Linked DNA regions of Homo sapiens: all the other regions are linked to region 1. The links are contacts of gene promoters, found by promoter capture Hi-C in blood cells and fetal thymus (Javierre and others, 2016). All regions are on one chromosome and are shown on one strand. Each heading gives the region's core, a stretch centred on a gene start or on the middle of the fragment in contact. The rest is flanking DNA. Distances are from core to core; before and after follow the strand shown.

Evidence for each region. Contacts are between HindIII fragments. The CHiCAGO score rates a contact against its expected background, and 5 or more counts as called.
Region 2: a contact is called between a fragment that was not itself captured here and the fragment with the promoter of MMGT1 in region 1, in 1 of 17 cell types (monocytes). The highest score is 6.5, in monocytes.
Region 3: a fragment that was not itself captured here is called in contact with the fragment with the promoter of MMGT1 in region 1 in 4 of 17 cell types (naive B cells, M2 macrophages, total B cells and 1 more); the score reaches 8.5 in naive B cells.

Annotation. Positions count from the first base shown.
Region 1 is chrX:135,971,796-135,976,129 of GRCh38, forward strand. It overlaps MMGT1 (membrane magnesium transporter 1), which reads right to left and starts at 2,193. Exons shown (of 4, transcript NM_173470.3): 1 at 1,802-2,193. The coding sequence starts at 1,880. It also overlaps a transcript of SLC9A6 not described here. RefSeq lists an enhancer at 1,742-2,271 and a silencer at 2,282-2,391. The HindIII fragment of the contact is 2,640 bases long and covers 837-3,476 here.
Region 2 is chrX:135,488,710-135,493,043 of GRCh38, forward strand. No RefSeq gene overlaps it. Among named protein-coding and RNA genes, the nearest start is that of INTS6L, 30 kb to the right of the region's middle. RefSeq lists an enhancer at 848-897. The HindIII fragment of the contact is 4,497 bases long and covers 84-4,334 here.
Region 3 is chrX:136,267,989-136,272,322 of GRCh38, forward strand. No RefSeq gene overlaps it. Among named protein-coding and RNA genes, the nearest start is that of MAP7D3, 19 kb to the left of the region's middle. The HindIII fragment of the contact is 1,899 bases long and covers 1,566-3,464 here.

The DNA.
Region 1 (4,334 bases), core at 943-3,442:
GGGATAAAAGAAAAGGATCAGGATTTGGAAACTGGTAAGCCTAAATCAGTGCCAGCTCTTCAATTTACTATAATTTCATTTAATTAAAGAAGCCCGCAGTGATCATAATACATATCTCAAGTTCAGAGTGTTAAAATGGTGGGTGTCTTAGAATCAAAGAAATACAGTATCTATTTTTTTCATTACCTGAATTTCCACAACAGTAAAATGAGAATAATGTGAGGTGAGGATTAAACAAGATACAGTAAATGACTGGTGCCCTACTGTAACAAAGTTCATTACAGCAAAGATGAGCATGCCACAGCACCACATTGTGCTATCTGCTGCTACAGTCTGACATGACACACTTAGTCTTAAAGTTACATATTACTCTCTCCCTAACATGAGCATTATATATAAAGAGGTCTCACTGCAGTGGCAAATCCACAAGGCATTCTCATCACCCAAAACATAAAATACAAAAATCTTAATTCTAGATGAACCTAGGACAATCCCTATTTAATAACGTACTTTGGACTAAATAATTCAAACTGTTTTTGAGTGCATGTGTATTGACTCTTGAAGAAGAATGTGTTTAGAGACATTTCTTAAGTTTTAACCTACAGCTCTGTCATAAAGACAAGTGTAAAAGAAACATCAAACCAACACCAAAAATCGATTTTGACTAATCTCCTATCTGGTTCAATTCCTAGCTAGCTTGCTAGTTTGCATGAAGCCTCGCCTGCTTCTAACACTACCTTTAACCAGGAATTTCCTCATCTGTAAAATGAAGGGGTTGGACTTCAGTGAACTCCAAAGGCCCTTCTCGCCCCACAATCATATAATTCTACAGTTAAAGCTTACTGTAGAAAATGACACAGTACTCCAGTGTATCCTAATCTCTTCCAGGACAGTGTTTCTCAAACTAATGCGCATACAAATCACCCTGGGATCTTATTAAAACCCAGATTCTGATTGAACAGGTCTGGCCTGAGTATCTTCTAATTACCTGCCAGGTGGTGCTCATGATGCTGGTCTGTTGATCACACTGTAAGCAGCAAGGATCTAGGATACTTTCCTTAACCTCCCAGTTCCCCCAAAATATGACTGTCCCTGCTTCCATGCATCCTTATATACTTTTAGCATATCACTTTATTGTAACTACTTCTTGATCCACTTGTTTTCCTTTAGACTTTGAACTGGCTCAGGGCATCACTGTATCTCTAGCACCTAAACACAGCGCAATTTCAAACAGCGACCCAAAACTGAATTTCATAACGCAGTGTAGCACAAATCTTTTGCCCAACGTCACACAGATGTAGCGGTAATGCAAGTTTTTAACAACCAGTCCTTTAGACTCCCAGTCCAGTGCTCTTTCTCCTGTACCACAGTGCCTCCCTGAGGCAATCGGTCACTTAACTACTCAGTCTCTGCCTGGACAGCCCAAGAGTGCCCAAGATGTTGTCCACTTGGTTGTCGTGGGACCATGAGCAACCAGAGTCCTCAATCTCACAACTGTGCCTGATCTGCCCCATGCTGGATCTGACATCACTTGTCCTGGATTCCTGGAGACTCCTATTCTGAACCCTCTCCCAGACACCTCCTTCCAACCTTCCTGCAATTTCAGGTGCCACACTCTCTCCAAATTCAAACTCCGAACCTTCCACTGGGAACTCCTGCACTGATTTTCTTAGTCACCCCAAACTGTAAGGTCTCAAAGGACCATTAATCTGACACTCGGTCCGATGGTCCCTTAGAAGTGCGCCCACACACCGCCCCTAGGGTTCCACACCGAAGCGGTCCCCGTGCCCCAGGCACTTACGCTGCGCAGCGGAAAAGGCGGCGTGGGCTAGGGCAAAGAGACCGATGCCCACCAGCCCCTTCCACAGCGACGGCGCCATGATGCCGAAGGAGCAGCAGCCCAGCAAAAGAAGCGAAGGACGGCGGAGCTGTTTCTTCTTCCACCGGCGGGTGTCCGCGCGCCGCAGAAAGATGACGTCACTGAAGTCCTGAGCGCAAAGTGTCTCAGTGGTGGAAAAGCCAGAGGGCTGTGAGAAAACGGAAACAGGAATGCCGGGAAGAAGCAGAAAGCTACACGGAAAAAGGTCCGCGAGAACCCACGAACCTGCGCTATGGAGGCCTCTCTAGGAGGGCCGGAGCCCAACGGAGTCATAAACGAAGAGGCGAAAGCGGGAGCTACGGGGAAGCGAAGAGGAAGGGCGCCGGCAAATGGGGGCAGGGCCAGTGGCGAGAACAGGGTGGGGCAGAGGGACGGGGGCCTGCGTAGAGAACGTGTGGGGGCGAGGGGCGGGGTAGGCAGACGGGCGGGGTGGGGAAGACGCGCGGGGCCCGCACGAGGGTGGGTGTAGCCGAGGGGCGGGGCCAGTGGGTGGGTGGGTGGGCGTAGCCGGGGGGGGGGGGCCCTGGTGGGTGCGGTCGAGTGGCGGGGCCTGCGGGGAGGATGGGTGGGGCCGAGGGGCGGGGAGGAGGTGGGGCCGAGGGGCGGGGAGGAGGTGGGGCCGAGGGGCGGGGAGGAGGTGGGGCCGAGGGCGGGGCCTACGGGAGGATGGGTGGGGCGTAGGGGGCGGGGCGGAGGGGACGGAGAGTGGGTGAGGGCCGAGGGGGCGGGGAGGAGGTGGGACCGAGGGGCGGGGAGGAGGTGGGACCGAGGGGGCGCGGAGGAGTGGGACCGAGGGGGCGGGGAGGAGGTGGGGCCGAGGGGCGGGAGGAGGTGGGGCCGAGGGGCGGGGCTGGGGGCGTTGGGGAAAGGCGGTAGGTGCTGGATATAGACCCCTGACAGTTGTGTTTTGTGGGTTGGTTGGTTTTGGCTTTTTGTGAAACTGTGCCTTTTGTTTTCTGTAGGCCTTTCCTGTGCTTCAGCTCCCTGGAAACTGGCACTGCAGAAGGAGGCAAGGGTGTTAAAACGAGGAGGCAGTGTCAGGACAAAATCCCAGGATCTGGAACCCCAAATACTTGGCTCGCGGGAAGTGCTCAGTAAACCATTTTAAGGTCCTGGAGAAAGATTCGCGCAAAAAGAGGTGTAGCGCGGGGGGAGTGTTTTGTCGTGAAAAGAACCAGCTTACATTAAGGAAGAAATGAAAGAGGAAATTTTAAAATGCTAATAACGCAGCCTTCTTGCCTTGTCTCTATCTCTGATCCGGGTAAAATGTATACTCCTCTGCCCATTTTTCTTTGTCTTCATCTCCTGAAATGTAGACATTTAATAGTGAGCTTCTCCCCTTGACCTCATCACTCTGCTGTCCCCTGGGGAGCTCACCCATTCATTCCCACCGCTTCAGCCAGCAAAGGTATTACAGTGATTCCAAATCGACATCTCTATCACAAATATCTCTCCTTAGCTCCAGGGCTGCATTTCTGACTACCAGATAGGCATTTATTTCCTGTGGCACTTAAAACGTAATATGGCTAAAATGGAATTCATCCTTTTTTTCCAAATTCTGCACCAGTTCCTCCAGTGACCCCTGACTGAGTGGCAAAGCTTTGTAAACTGCATATCACAAGGTAAATGCAAAGTATGATCACCATTCTTTTCCTTTAACCCAATCAGAATTCTACGTTTTAGTTGCATCAATTTGCTTTTGCTCAAAGATGCGTCCTATCCTGACCACCCCTTTTAAATGTGCAAAATTCCTATTCCTGATCCCCTTATTCTGTTCTACTTTTTATATCACCTTCTAACATACTATATAATTTAACTATTTATGTTTGTTGTGTTACTGTTTACTGTCTGTCTTTCCCCACTGGAATGTAAGCTCTGAGAGAACAGAGATTTCTCTGTACCTAAAACTTTGACTGTCATGTGATAAGCATTCAATAAGTGCTTGTTGAATGACAAATGAATTCCGGAAAATAATTGGGACAGTATCCCTATTTGAAAGGATCTCTACAGAGAGTCCTTCCAATCTTTTGAATTGGGCTCAAAAATCCCCATGGACTTGCATGTACTCTCACATTTTGACAACCTTTTGATTGTAAACATTTTCTGATATGCTTGAGCTTCCTCAAAGCTGGAAAAACAAATAAGACATCTCATTAGCTGGGCATAGTAGCACATGCTTGTAGTCCTAGCTACTTGGGAAGCTAAAGAAGGAGGATTGCTTGATCCCAGGAGTTCAAGGCTACAGTGAGCCATGATTATGCCACTGCACTACAGGCTGAGTGACAGAGCGAGACCCTTTCTCTAACCAAAAAAAAAAAAAAAAAAAAGTAGAAGAAGACATCTAAAATTAATCATATTTCCTCAACTTTACTTATATAATTTTTGTCCTGGATCTCATTTTCCAAACCTTTAGTCATGTTCATTATTCTTTTCTGGGCCCTTTCCAATTTCTTCA
Region 2 (4,334 bases), core at 1,082-3,581, 480 kb before region 1:
GAGTGAGACCCTGTCTCAAAAAAAAAAAAAAAATCCCCAATATGGCTGGCAAGTCAAGACAGAGACTGCAGAAAAAAGAAAAAAGCTTTATATTTGAGTCCCTCTAGCAACAGTATTTTCTGCCTTTTAATCAAGGAGCCCCATATTTCTATTTTGTGGTGAGCCCCAAAAATTATTTAGCTGGTCCTGCCTATAAGGTATGAGATCCATAATACTTTCTACTCTGGTCTTCTCTGTTTTTAAGTGTTACTCATGGATACAAACACATAGAAATGATAAATACTTAAGGTGATGGATACCCCAAATACCCTGGCTTGATCATTACACGTTCTATGCCTGTGGCAAACAGTCACATGTACCCTATAAATATGTAACACATTATGTATCAGTAAAAGAAAAAAGCCAAGCGTGATGGCTCACGCCTGTAATCCCAGCACATTGGGAGGCCAAGGCAGGTGGATCTCTTGAGCCCGGCAGTTACAGACCAGCCTGGGCAACATGGTGAAATCCCGTCTCTACAAAAAATACAAAAATTAACCAGGAGCACACCTATGGTCCCAGCTACTTGGAAGGCTGAGGTGGGAGGATTGCTTGAACCTGGGAGGTTGAGGCTGCAGTGAGCTGTGATCATGCCACTGAACTCTAGACTAGACAACAGAGCAAGACCCTGTCTCAAAAAAAAAAAAAAAAAAAAGGAAATGGAAAAAACTATAACACATGTAAATACACGAAGAACACAAGAAATAATAATTAATAATGTCATAAAAATAATGCTATCTTTAGTAATCCATATTACTTTAGAATGGTCTAGTCCATGAGTGTGTGAAATAAAAGGAGTCATGTAAATTGGGTTAAAAAATGTTGCTCATGATCCACTAAATTGATTTCATGACCCTTAATGGGTTGTGACAGGCAGTTGGCAGAACCCTGCCCTAGAGGTTAGAGTGCATGGTTAACATTTCCCCAAACATTTTCTCTTCAACTAAACCAAAGTGCTTAGCAGCCAGATCTGGGGTCAGTCAAAGGTGATTTCACTTCCCCTTGAGGGAGACAATTAGAGGTATAAGGAAAGTCCTACCAGCACCTTCGAAAGGCTGCTTGACTAATTATTGTCATGGCTGCTAGAACCAATGAGATGGCTAATTTGGTCCCTCAAGGCCTTATACAAATGTCTCTTTGATCTTACCTCAGAAGTCTCTGTAACCCATCAAAGTAATACTTCAATTAAGTTTATCCCAAGGCTATCCCACGTACTGGGTCAGGAAGTCACCCCCTATTCAATTTCTCATCTAAAATTATGCTCAACTCAGTTATCCAAATAGGGTCACCAGACAGGATTATACAAGGCACGCTAAATATTAACATCCCACAGAGGAAGCTGCATTTCTAACAAAATTAATACTGTGATGGTTCAGAGCATGAGCTTAGAAGTCAATTAGATCAGATACTAATCCTAGCTCTGTCCCTCTCTTGGGCATGTAACTTAACTTTTCTGGGTATTGTTTTACTCATCTGTAAAATGGGAATATTCATATCTATAGTGTTGCTGTAAGGATTGATGTTTGCAAAGTGCCTAATAGCACTTAGTAACTTATAGCTGTTATTATTGCTGCTGTCTTTTCCAACAGAGATATTTAAGTAAAATTATCTAAAAAACATCTTCCTTATACGATTCTGTTTCTGTACTGTTCTGTCCAGCCAGAAGGGTCTTCCTTCAGTACCTGGTTCAGTGATTCTCAACTGGAGGCACTTTGCACACTGGGTGATATTTGACAATGTCTAAAGATGTTTTGGTTGTCATGACACGGGGTGAAGGGTGCCACTAGCATCAAGTGGATAGAGGCCAGGGATGCCATTAAACATCCTACAGTGCACAGCACCCCTTACCCCAGATACACACACAACAAAGAATTATACAGTCCAAAATGTCAAAAGAGCCAAGGTTGAGAAACCCTGCCTTGGTTGAAGCCTGGACCAGCATCTATTAGAAAGTGCATAGCTCCTTCAACACCTCCAAAATTGTTTTTTTCTGATTTTGAACAATTAAATTTTAGATTTTGTGATAATTTAGTCAGACCTGGCCTAAATTTGTCATCATGAAATTTCTAGGCAAATAATTAATAAACAAGATATATGTGTGTGTGTATCTGTGTCTATGTGTGTATATTAGTATAGTGGTGAGGGGTGATGGTGAGAAGTACTTCCTTGAAAGAATTAAGCAATTTTAAGTACTCCAGGAATAAATTACAAATGAATTTTGTCCACCCGTACAATGGAAATCCTATAGGAATCTCTATTAATCTACCTTTTAACCTACTTTAAATTACTGAGTGATTACATGAAATGAAACTGGTGCAAAATTCAACACCTCCAAAATTATATTACTCCAACCCCGTGACTCCTATCTTTCAAAGTTCCCAGAGCTATCACACTATATGGAACGACCAGGGAAAATTTTGATCCATTCATACTACAGAATATGATGCAATCATAAAAGGAATGAGAACGTTAGCATAATAGCTAATATTAATTCAGCATTCACGTGCTTTACATTCAGGATCTCATTTGGTTCCTATGGCATTATGAGGTAGATTCTATTATGATCACCACCACCTCCCACACAGTTTTACAGATAAGGAAACTGGAGGTGGAAGAGGTAAGGTGACAAGTAATTGAGGTTAGTTTCTTGAAACTTGAGAGTTTATTTTTGTTAACCAAAGATAAATAATTGCAGTATGGTGTAAGTCAATTGGGAGAAACAGATTCAACTGGCTTAATATAATTTTAAAGGCCTATATTTCTTCACTTGTGATTTACTTGCTTTAAGATCTTATTTTGAATAGACAGAAACTCTTCTTATTGAATTTCTCATTATTTTGATTTTTTATATATTCACTGGGGAACCATCAGTGCAGGCACCATGGAATGTAATTGAGATATTAAATCCAAGCTAAACATTTGAATACTTATCCTCAAATTATAATGCAGTGCTTCTCAAAGTGTGGTCTATGGACCCATACAATCCCTTGAGACAGTCTCAGGGGGTCCACAAAGTCAAAACTAATATAATATCAAAATATTATTCACTTTTTTCACTATGTTGAAGTTTGCACAGATAGTGCAAAAGCAATGGTGAGTAAAACTGCCAGCCCCTTAGAATGAATCAAGGCAGTGGAACTAAACCACTAACTTGTAGTGGTTTTTGTAGTCTTCAATAACACATTTTATTGTAGTCTTCGATACCACATACTCAGAGGGAAAAAAAGCAGTTTCATTTAAGAATGCCTTTGGAGAAAGAGCAAAAATTATTATTTTTATTAAATCCTTTTATATTGCATAGTAACGAAATGAGAAGTATGCATAACGTAGTTCCACTTTGCAATAAAGTATAGTGGTTGTTTCAGTGGAAAGCACTTGTCTAGTTGTTTGAGTTGAAAGATAAACGTAAAACATTCATTGATATGACTTCACATTCCACATTGCAACTAAACTTTAAGAACTACCAAGCCAAATGACTTCACTGGTGAATTCTACTACTCACTTAAATGTAAATAATAGTAAAACTATATAAACTCTTCCAAAAAGTTGGAGACAATAGAATACCTCTCAACTCATTCTTTGAGGCCTACATTTATCTGACACCAAAACTATGAAAAGAAATTACAAGAAAAGAAAAGGTCTGTGGTTACAAACTAATATCCCTTATAAACTTCGATGCAAAAATTCTTAACAAAATCTCAGAAAATCAAATCCAACAAGATATATTTAAAAAGTGAATACATTGATATCAAGTGTCATTTATGCCAGGGAGGCAAAGTTGGTTTAACATTCGGAAATTAATTCAGTTCACCATATTAATGGATTAAAAAACTAAAAACATATCATTTTCTCAATAGACTTAAGGAAATACTACATCTATTCCCAATTAAAAACAAACCTCTCAGCAAACTAGGAATAAAAAGGAACTTTCCGGACATAAAGGGCACTTACAAAAAAACCTACATATACCATCATATTTAATTAGGAAAAATTAGAGTTTTTCCTCTTAAGATCAAGAACAAAGCAAGGACGTGTGCTCTCACCACTTCTATCCAACAATGTACTGGACATTCAAACCAGTGCACTAAGGCAGGAAAAGAAAAAGCATCCAGATCAGAAAGGAAGAAATTAAACTATCTTTATTTTCAGAAGAAATGATGGAGAAAATCCAGTGTAATCTACAAAGAAGTTACTAAAACTAAGAAGTGAGTTTAGCTTAGTTGCAGGATATAAGATCATTATACAATGTTTTTCTATACTAGGAATGAACAATCAGGAATTAAAATTTAAAATAT
Region 3 (4,334 bases), core at 1,265-3,764, 300 kb after region 1:
GGCAAATTATGTGCGGAGTGTTGTATGAGACTCTCTCAAAGAAAGCTGTGGTCCAAAATGCCATCAGGCATCCCAGTGTATGCTGCCCATTCCTGTGGGTGACACACCTGCCTGAGTATGACGTGCCTCCCTGCCCCTTGCAGGCATAGTTTCATTTAATTCTGATAGAATCCTATGAGGTAGCTACTATCATTATCCCCATACTACAGACAAAGAACTCGAGGCCTAGAGAGGTTAACGAATCTGCCCCAGGGTCCATAGTTACTCCATGAAACTATTGGGTATATTCACCTCCCAAAAGAAAAAAATGGGCAAGAGGTTGGGGTTGAGAGTTGAGACAGACTTCTAGTTCTCACTCTGCCACTAACTACCTGTATGACTTTGGGCAAGTCTTTCCAGCTCTATTTCATCATCCATTCATCAGTTACTGTGCTGGTTGTTTCCTGGCTTTACATTCAATTCCTTTTTCTGAAATCCTTACAGTTATTTGTGATTACTTGTAACTGGAGTTAAACTTTAGTTGTCCAGAAAAATAAAAATAGAAATGCAAAGTATCAAGGTGCTCCCAAATCAAACATACAGATGGCAGAGATCATCACAGAAATGACAATAAGGACCCTTTTTCCTGTTTGGCAAAGCTGAGTGTTGCTGCCACCTAGCGAGTAAAAGGAAGATGGCTATCATGCAAGGTCAGGCCCTTCTGTGGAGGCCCAGGGAAAAAGACCAGAAATCATCCAGTTTACCAAATATTAATAACTTATGAGATTTCACTAATATGTTAAAATTGCAGCATTTGCTTCAGTATATGCAAGCCAATATCTCTTCCGTTGAGAAAAATGGGATCAGGAGAAGAGCTACTCTGGGCAGTGTTAAGTAGGAGTTATTAAAGAGGAGGTCTTTAAGTAGGAGGTCTTTAAGTGTTAAGTAGGAAGTCTTTGGTTTCCTCCAAACATCTGCTTACACTGTGTCCTTTCCTACTGATCCTCTCCCTCTCCCAGCTGGAATCCTAGAACCCTAAGTCTGAGCAGGAAGGAACCATCATCAGAGAATTTCTAAGGCAGCCCGGGTCATAGCACAGAAGAAAACGGATTTGACCAAGGTCACAAAGGTAGTTAACATAGGCAAGACTGACAGAAGACTAGTCTCAGAACTCTGAAACCTGGTCTGATCAAATCCACCCAAAATGGATGAGATTAGATATTTGCAAAATCACCTTCAGTCTGGAGCAATATTAGGAGATACCATCAATGATATGAACATATATAAGGAAGCCAAGTCGTTCTGGTAGGGAGAAATGGGTGGTCTGGCTGGAAATCTGGAGAAACTGAAGCTGTTGGGAGCTTCAGGCACTAGAAGATGCTCTCTACTGGGATGAGGGAAGAAATCTCTCATCAGGACTCAGAGAGGTCAGGCTGAGTATAAAGGCCCCCCAGTCAACAGATCTCAATCTTCATCAGATACATTCCCACCCATCAGGGAGTGCCCAGGGCTCCCAGTGCACCAGATCTAATCTTACGGTTTCCTCTGCTATTAGGAAAGAATATCAGAAGTGAGATGAGAAGCAAAGCTTATTGCAGGATAACTTGAATCTGCTAGAATGTATTTTTAAAAATCAAAATATTTTATTATTATTATTAATCATTTGCAGCAAACTCACAGCTCCTAGTTTGGATGGCCCCCATTCTTGCAATGATTCCTTTTTTTTTTTTTCGAGACAGATTCTGGTTTTGTCGCCCAGGCTTGAGTGCAGTGGCACAATTATGGCTCACTGCAACCTCCTCTGCCTCCCGGGTTCAAGTGAGAGGCTCATGCCTCAGCCTCCCAAGTAGCTGGGATTACAGGCGCATGACACCATACCCAGCTAATTTTTTAAAATATTTCTAGTAGAGATGGGTTTTCACCATGTTGGCCAGGCTGGTTGGTCTCAAACTCCTGGCCTCAAGTGATCTGCCTGCCTTGGCCTCCCAAAGTGCTGGGATTACAGGCTTGAGCCACTGTGCCCAGCCTGGAATAGCTCTTTGCACTGTCAACAACCTAAGTAATAACAATAATGATGATAATAATAGCTGATATCACCAAGGGCATTCATTGTGTTAGGGACTTTCCAGTCGTTATCTCATATATCTGACAATAGCCCAATGAAGTCATAATTATTATGACCCCTATTTTATAGCTGAGTAAGTTGAGGCTCAGAAAGCAGTTTGCCCAAGGTCACATAGCTCTCCCTGACCATCTCAGCTCTTAATCACTGCCCTATACTCACTGAAGGCTTGGCTTCTGAGATGCACTAATACCAGGAGGCAGGAGGTGAGTGTATCCTCTAACTAGTGGACATGTATATTTTTAACTCTAGGAAGAGATTCCCTCCTTGCCATCCCTAGACTTTGTTGTAAATTAACACATAGGCATTCCAGGATTACAGCCTCTCCTCAGGAAACTGATGGATCACTTGGTAGGCTAGTTGCCTGTAAGGGGAGAGATTACCTCTGGAAAACATTTTCCCTAATGTACAGAAAATTGTTTTCTGGGTGGGGATAGAGCGGGAGACAAACTGTAGGAGGATAGGTGACTAATTAAGGGGAAGAATTTTTGATTATCTGTTGTTTCAGATTATCAGAGTAATCGCTTCTGTCTATTAACATGGATAATTAAGAATTGACTGTGTAGTTAAGTAATTCAAACCTTCCTCTCTCACACACAAAATTCTCTTCAGTAATAAACAAGCATGCACAGAATTATTCACTGAAATAAATGGACTTCCTTCTTGTGTTTGTCAAATACAATCCCCTCTTCCTCTCACTGAATTACCAATTTAGATGAAGAGGTTCCTTAAACAAGAATCTATGTATGTATGTATGTATGTATGTATCTATTCATCTATCATCTGTTCTATATCTATGTAATATGAACCGAATATGCACTACAATGATTTTACTCTTGCTCTCACCTCCCCCCCCCCCTTTATTTTTGAGACAGTCTCGCTCTATTGCCCAGACTGGAGTGCAGTGGCACCATCTCGGCTCACTGCAAACGCCACCTCCTGGGTTCAAGCAATTCTCCTGCCTCAGCCTCCCAAGTAGCTGGGGTTACAGGCATGCACCACCACACCCGGCTATTTTTTTTTTTTTTTGTATTTTTAGTAGAGATGGGGTTTCACCATGCTGGCCAGGCTGGTCTCGAACTCTTGGCGTCAAGTAATCCACCCACCGTGGCCTCCCAAATCGCTGGGATTACAAGCATGAGCCACCATGCCTAGACCTCTCACGACCCTCTTTTGACATTTTTTTGGTTCCTTAGGCAAATAATATATACTAAATCAAGTATAATATTTTATGTTGTTACTCTATGGTTTTTCTTAAGGCAGAGAATAATTAACAGGACAGTTAGAAAATGTGAACAGGAAATAGTTGAATACAAGCTGAGAATGTTGCTAAAAAAGAGGAAGTGAGTTGGAAACTAAAGGAAGCTTTGTGTTTGGAGGGTCATCAAAGGAGAAAAGGGTTCTTTTAAAAAAAAAATAGAGGACTCACCTCATGCCTAGACTCCATGTACTAAGTCTGGAGTACAAGCAGAATTTTCAGCTGTTTCCGGAAACAAGCCTGAGGGGCACATAGACCACAAGTTCCCCTCCAGGGGTTGAGAGAATGTCTTACTTAACATGAAATTCTCCCATGTTTTCTAGCCTAGTGCTTGGCATGTTTTAGGTACCCAGTAAATATTTGGTAAGTCAAAATGAACTTTGTAATTGAGTTCCAGGCTTTGAGAATCAAGTTGGTGATTAAAAATCAAAACAAAACAAAACAACAGCAAAATAAATGAGAAATGATGGAGACTTCATTTTAGAGTGTGAAGGGAAGATTGCAAGGATAGTAAATGTTCTCATCTCATTTTATATGAATCATAACTGTAATAATGCAGGACATGTGGGCAGGTTTTCAGCGACTTGCTACAGCTCCCCTACAATCTAGCTATCTGCCTTTACTGTACAATTCACTCAAAAACAATTATTTAATTTAAAAAACTGCCTCTGATCATGCATGTGTGTGTGCATGCGTGTGTGTGTGCATGCATGTGTGTGTGTATGTTTGTATATGTAATTCAAAGAAGCTAGTACTAAAAAGAATTTTTAGAATTAGAGCAATTAAAAAAACCATTTATTTGTTTATTTATTTTGAGACAGAGTGTCACTCTGTTGCCCAGGCTGGGGTGCAATGGTGCAATAATAGCTCACTGCAGCCTCAAACTCCTGGGCACAAGTGATCCTCCCGCCTCAGCCTCTAGAGTAGCTGGAACTACAAGTGCGTGCCACCACACCTAGGTAGTCTTTAAAGTTT